2 separate regions of the Homo sapiens genome follow, and region 2 is linked to region 1. Evidence: promoter capture Hi-C in 16 types of primary human blood cells and fetal thymus (Javierre and others, 2016). All regions are on one chromosome and are shown on one strand. Each heading gives the region's core, a stretch centred on a gene start or on the middle of the fragment in contact. The rest is flanking DNA. Distances are from core to core; before and after follow the strand shown. Region 1 holds the start of TSPAN11 (tetraspanin 11). Region 2 overlaps TMTC1 (transmembrane O-mannosyltransferase targeting cadherins 1).

Region 1 (3,156 bases), core at 285-2,784:
GTTGGTGGTTATAAATGTCCTGGGCTCATCTGAAGAAAGGCTCTCTGGAAAGTCAAGGTGCTCTAGGCAGACTTAAAGACATCAACGCCAGTTTTCCTCTTGTTCTGCAGCACTCACACAAGAACTATGGGGAATCACACAGGCCTGTACATATTTTACACACGAGTCCAAAGGTGGGTATAAAATTCCTGCTATGCTGAATATAGTGGGAAACAGCACACAAATGCCTCCCTCTGCTACCCACAAACCAAACAGCTCTGGGCCACCTAAGCCCTCGCCAGACCACCAACTTGGCCCCTGTAGGCCAGTAGTGCCCCTTACCCTAGGAGTCTTAACTATCATCAAAGCATTTCCAGGCATTAATTGGAGCCTCCAGTCCCTTGGGAGACAGATGGGGCCAGTGGTTATTAGTCCCATTTTGCACAAAAAGCAACTGAGCCCCAGATGACCTATCTGTCCAGGGAACAATGCTACTGACACAGTGACAACCATTAAGTTCTGATTCAAACCTGTCTCCAGCCTCTAACTGCTGCTTTCCACTGCAATCCAGCTGCCCACAAATTGAACACAGACTATCCACTTTGGCCTAATACCACCCTCATTCTCTTCTTCACGCTCCCCCACACACACCCTATGCCCCAGAGTGCACTTATGAGTTTTTCCAGAAGCTGCCTCTTCTCCTCACCCCCCACCCCCACGCTCACCTCACAATACTTGCCACGAACTGGAGACCTCTGGAACACTTATTCCTCCTGCACACAGCAGCTTAGACTCAAGTTAAGATGCTGTCCCGCCAAGCCCAACTGGGCTGCCTCCCTTTCATACTTTCCACCAATTCACACATGTGCACACTGCACATATGGCTGGTGAAAAGGATACACCCCAGAACCTTCCATGCCTTCTTTCCACACGGAGCCGGCCAACTGCACATGCAGGGATGGGCACGAAAACACAGGTGACAGGGCCTACACAGCCATGTTGTCACAAATACACAGACGTGCCCAGAACATGAGGACATCCCTGCACAGGCAGACAGGCCCTCTGAAAGCAATGTGCACCAGATACAGCATTTTGGTGTAGCCATGAGAGGCAGCTACTCGAATTCAGGGTGGACAAAGAATGACATTTTCAAGAGGAACAGACATGCCCCGGGCACGCTGGACGGCACGAGGCCCTCAGAGGCCCAGAGCTCTCTCCCAAGGCACAAGTGCAGAAAGGCAGACTCATGCGCATAGTTATGGACACCGTGTTGCGTGTCCCATGCAGACACCAATACCTGCTCACATGCCCCGCGAGTGTCCCAGGCATTCCTGCCTCCTCCACTCCTCATCCCCAGCCGGCTTCCCTCTGCCCGCCCGGGGGAAGCTCGGGACAGTCTAGCTCGGGACTGCCGGCGGGGCGGGCAGCGGAGGTGGAGGCGCCTCTCCTGGACCCCCAGCCCCCTCCCGCGGCGCCCCCACTCCTCGGGCGCGCTTCTGCACTTACCCTGCCAGGGGCTCCGGAAGCGGCGAAGGGAGCTGCGCCTAGAGAGACTGAGAGCGGCGGCTCCCGGGGCCGCCCAGCCGCCCACCGCCCGCAGCCAGCGCTCCTCCCTCCCAGCCCGGGAAGGTCAGCGTGTGGGCAGCCCGGCCCGCGCCCCTGCGCCCACTGAGGCTTCCTGCCGGCCCTCTAGTCCCCGCCTGCCCAGCGCTCGGCCGCGACGCCCCGGCGCCGGCTCTCCCAGCCCAGCCGGCAGGACGCGCCCGGGAGCCCCGCACGCGAGCTGCCGGCTCTTTGTTTGGGGGTTTGCCTCTCTGCGATTCAGAGCACGCGGAGGGAATTAAGTCAGAGTCCGAGGCAGCTGTGCGGTTGCCGGGGGGATCCCTAAGGGGGGCGGGGCAAAAGGACGGACTAGTAGGGCGGTGGAGCGGCTTTCAAACTCCCCGCGCTCCGCAGCTCCCCGCTTAGGTCTCCCTGCCCTTTACGTTTGTCGGCCCCTGGGAGAGGTTGGCCTTTGGGGGTTTCCAGGGACCCTAGGGACAAGCCTGTCTGATAAGAGAGAGGTTCTCCATCCCCCTTCCTCACCAGCCCCCATCACTGCCGTGTCCCTCTTAGAGTCCTGTGGAGCATCAGCTTTACATTTCCTGGGCCCCGGGGAGAATCAAGGTCTCTCTAATCTGAAGCAAAAAGGAATAACAGAGAGTAGAGCCCATCTGTTCCTGCTGAGTCCCTGTGAAGGTGCAAAGCTGGCCCTAACGGGACTGGCCCTAACAGTGGGGCATGGATTATCTATTTCCCAAAGTAACAAGGGCCTTGTGCTTATCCAACCGTGTTCTTTTGAAACTTAGCTGCAGTGAGGAAGATTACCCATTTACCAGGTTGCTAGATCAGGGAAGCCACTGGAGGCAGGGGACGCTGACAAAGCCACTGTACCGGGAGCACCAACGTTCTAAATACCCCAGCTGGCTGCTGAGAAGGGCTTCGCGGGGGGCCACACAGGAAGGAGATGATTCCAATAGTCCCGTGAGATGAGGACCTTAACTGGGGGATGAATGCGGAAGCTGCAGCAAAGGAGAGTCTACAGACTGTGTGGTGTAGGAGGAGCACACTGGGGCTGTAACATTGTGGAAGTCTGGAGGAGAACCTGGAGTGATGTGACTGAGTTTAGTGTGGAGCAAGTTGGATTGGAGAAGCAGGCCACCTTCTTCCAGGGGCAGATATCCAGCAAATGCAATTGGAAGGGTGATTCTGGAGTTCATAGGAGAGACTGAGGCAAGGGATGTCAATTTTGGAATCATCTGGAAAGAAGTTGGGCCGACACAAGAGGTGGAGGGAGAGGGTAGAAAAGGTACAGAGAACAGGGCTGAAGACAGAATCTAGGTCTACCGAGAAGGAGCCCATGAAAGGAACGGAAACTATCAGGAGAAACCATAAGGGAAGGTCAGGACTGTGCGGGGTGTCAGGACTCAGGAGAAGAGGGAGGTTCAATGGGGGCCGGGGCCCGGGCTGCAGGGACACCACGGAGGAGGGCGCCCAAGAAAATAGGTTTAGATTTAGAAAGAAGGAGATCTCTGGGCTAGTTCAAGATAACTATTTGAGTGGTGGCTTATATAAACCAGGTTGCCACTCCTTGGGGCGGGGCATCTGTATCTCGGATCCAATTGGTTGATGGGGAGA
Region 2 (3,156 bases), core at 194-2,693, 1.3 Mb after region 1:
AGAACAGTCCTCCTTGGTGACCAGCATCCTTCCAGGACCTGACACAGAGCTTTCAGACACTCTCCCTACAAAGCTGTGGTGTGACCTGCTGCAGCATAAACTCCGAATTTAGGCGCATAGTGCCAATAGAGTCATACAATGACAGTGACATGAGGGAGCTTGGGTCAGAGGAGCCATTCAGGACCCAAGAGCTTATATGTGGGACTTCTCATGATGCCTCAGCTGCTGAAATCCAGGGCACTTTAAGCCTACAAGATGACTCTCTCATTCCCTACACTGAAGAAATAGCAAGAAATATTTCTACAAGAAATAGCAAACCTGCTAGTGCAGCACTTTAGAGAACTAACATGTTAATATTGTCCAAGGCAGGGGAGTTTCTATTTGTTTCTCTAGCACAGGACAAGCTTCATTTGAAAGTTAGTTTTGTAGGAGATAATTCTGGGGGGAAGCTATTGCACCCCCAAAGTAATCCCGTTCCTTCCACCCTGTTTTCCAGCATGGGCTACTGCATCCTTTTTGTGCATGGACTGAGCAAGCTCTGCACTTGGCTGAATCGATGTGGGGCCACCACCCTGATTGTGTCCACTGTGTTGCTGCTGTTGCTTTTCTCTTGGAAAACTGTGAAACAGAATGAAATTTGGCTGTCAAGAGAGTCCCTATTCAGGTATGACTAGACAGATAAAAATAAATATCTTCCTGTTTATTTCTTTGCTTACAAATTGTTTCCAAACAAATGAGGTAACATGGGCCTGGCAGTATTTACTAAGGAAAATTATCTTTAATAAAGTTTTAAATGGAAGATGTAATTTTATGTGGGGTTTTAACTTTAGATTTTTAAAATGATATATAAAACTTAACATGAGCTCTTTCTAAGTGAATTTATGAAAATAAGGCTCCTGGGAAAGTTTTTGAGTCTGTGAATTCAGATGGAAACAGTTTTAATGATGAGCAGGGCTGTAAAATCAGCTATAAACAAAATGAAACCAAGAAGTGCATGTGAAAAGTGAGCACACAGCCAGAGGGAAGAGAAATGCAGTATCCTTCTTTAGAATATTCCAGCATGATACGCTGTGATCTGTGACCTAGTTGCTTTATTTTGAACATTAATTTTGAACATTCTTTGAGACTGCCATTCATGATGCTGTGTTTCTGGGGCTTAGTCAGCCTCACTAAATGCCGCAGCCCTGGCGACCTTCGCCTGGCTCTCTTGGCACTGCCACACCTGACACCCAAACAATATTTGCCCAGTCTTCCAGGAATCCCCAGTCTGGGCCTCTTCCAAGCTTCTGTCCTCACTTATGACCTGATTGGTCAATTTAGTCACCATGATTTTTTTCTTGGTTTCCTGATTAGCTGGTACCCAACACTTATTCTTTGGGGGCAAACAATTGAAGCAGAGCTAATATCACTTAAGGAAAGGGGAAACTGTTGGAAGAGGCTAGGAAGGCATACAGAATTAAGGGAAGTGAAGAACCCGGCACACCCAAGACAGGAAACAGGCATCTGGAAAATCCGTCTTGAGCACCCTCTCAGAAACAAACAGGTAAACTTAACACCAGGTTTTTGGATGTACACATCAAAGTCTTAGGAAAAGAAAGCTTTTTGGCTGAACTTAAGATTAGTCACATGCCTGCCCCTTGTCCCTAGCAAGGCACTGAGAGGACTGATCTGACCAAGAAGCCTCCTCTGAGTTCCATGGAGGGAGCTAGGGCAGGCAGAGCCCCTTGGGGTTCCACCCAGACTTCTCAAAGTGAGGCAAGAGGGAAGTTCCCAGCAGGAAATCCAAGCACTGTAAGAAGGGGGAATAATCTCTGGGCTGCCAAATATGAATGAATGAGTGAAAGAACAAATAAGACAAAGGTTCACTGCACTCTTCTACTATTTTAAAATAATGTGTTTGATTTTACTTGGCAATTTGACATTTTTTAAAATATAAAACAAAAAGTCAGTCTGGCATGCATGTCCTATTACTTTATTTATGTATTATTACGTATTACATATCATTGTCATGATCGTCATTATGATCATTTCAGCGGGTACTGTAGGGAGCTCAATGTAGAGTTTTTTGTGTGGATTGTTTTTAATGCATCTTTTTTTTTCCACACAGATCTGCAAAATCACTCTTAGATTCTGTTAAGTCCCTGTCATACCCCTTTCTATTAAACACGATTCTCACAGACCACAACAGACTCATTCCTTCCTTCTGCCTCATGCTAACTAAGGTCATTCGGTAAACACAGGAGTATTTAAGTTCAGTAATATAACTTCCTCCGAGTCTCTGTTGGCATAGTTTTTTCTTCCTTTCTCTTTCACTAGTCAGAGCTTTTACGAGCATCTTTAGAAACAGTTCTGCCCTGTGCTAAACCTTTTGCCTGAATAAAGGTACTAACAGTGGTTGTATTTTCTAATGATGTTGACTGCTTAATCAGAGCAACTTTGGGAATGGATTTTGGCAGACTTAGTACTCAAACCCTTTACAGCTGATGCCAAAGATGTAAAAAAAAAAGAAAAAAAAATAGCTGATTGGCCTTGCATCCAGAAGCTTCTATTGTTTTAGATGGAAGTATGTAGTATCTTCACATCAATTGATTTCTAAAACACAACCATTCCACATTCGTGCTTAAAGAGATTTTGCAACTAAAGAGGCCTTTGGTGGTCCAATCAAATTTTGTGTAATGTGTAAATCAAAGCTATTGATATTTTCTAGAAATCTTTGCCTATTATCATTTATCTATGTCCTGAGAAAACTTTTAAGAATCTGAGACTTTAAAAGACTATTAAGACTGTTCTTTTTCCTTCAAGGCCAGAACAGATGTTTTTATGAATTCATTTGTGCTAAGTAATGTTCAGGTCAGTCAAACAAACATTTACTGAGAATCTATGAGGCACATTAAGGTTAGTGGTTGGGTGCAGGGTATGGAGTTAGACTTTCTGGCTCTACTCCAAGTTCTGCCATTGAATAGCTGTGTGATCTTAGGCAAGTTACTTATCCACTCTGTGCTTTAATTTCTTCATTTTACAATGTAAAATACTCGTGTTTATCTCCTGAGTATAGTGTAAGAATAAAATAGTATGTGAGAGATGCACAGGACAGTTTCTGGCATTTGAGAAACGCTGTGTAAGGTTTTCAGACTATTACTGTGCAGTGTGTTCTAG

What was found. The method cuts DNA at HindIII sites, captures the fragments that hold promoters and counts their contacts. A CHiCAGO score of 5 or more calls a contact.
Region 2: a contact is called between a fragment that was not itself captured here and the fragment with the promoter of TSPAN11 in region 1, in 4 of 17 cell types (naive CD8 T cells, naive B cells, activated CD4 T cells and 1 more). The highest score is 8.8, in naive CD8 T cells.

Annotation. Positions count from the first base shown.
Region 1 is chr12:30,925,126-30,928,281 of GRCh38, reverse strand. TSPAN11 (tetraspanin 11) reads right to left here and starts at 1,534. Exons shown (of 8, transcript NM_001370302.1): 1 at 1,486-1,534. LOC124902911 (a long non-coding RNA gene) reads left to right here and starts at 1,593. Exons shown (of 2, transcript XR_007063264.1): 1 at 1,593-3,156. The HindIII fragment of the contact is 3,619 bases long and covers 1-3,156 here.
Region 2 is chr12:29,580,915-29,584,070 of GRCh38, reverse strand. TMTC1 (transmembrane O-mannosyltransferase targeting cadherins 1) reads left to right here. Exons shown (of 18, transcript NM_001193451.2): 8 at 497-664. Among named protein-coding and RNA genes, the nearest start is that of OVCH1, 85 kb to the right of the region's middle. The HindIII fragment of the contact is 315 bases long and covers 1,286-1,600 here.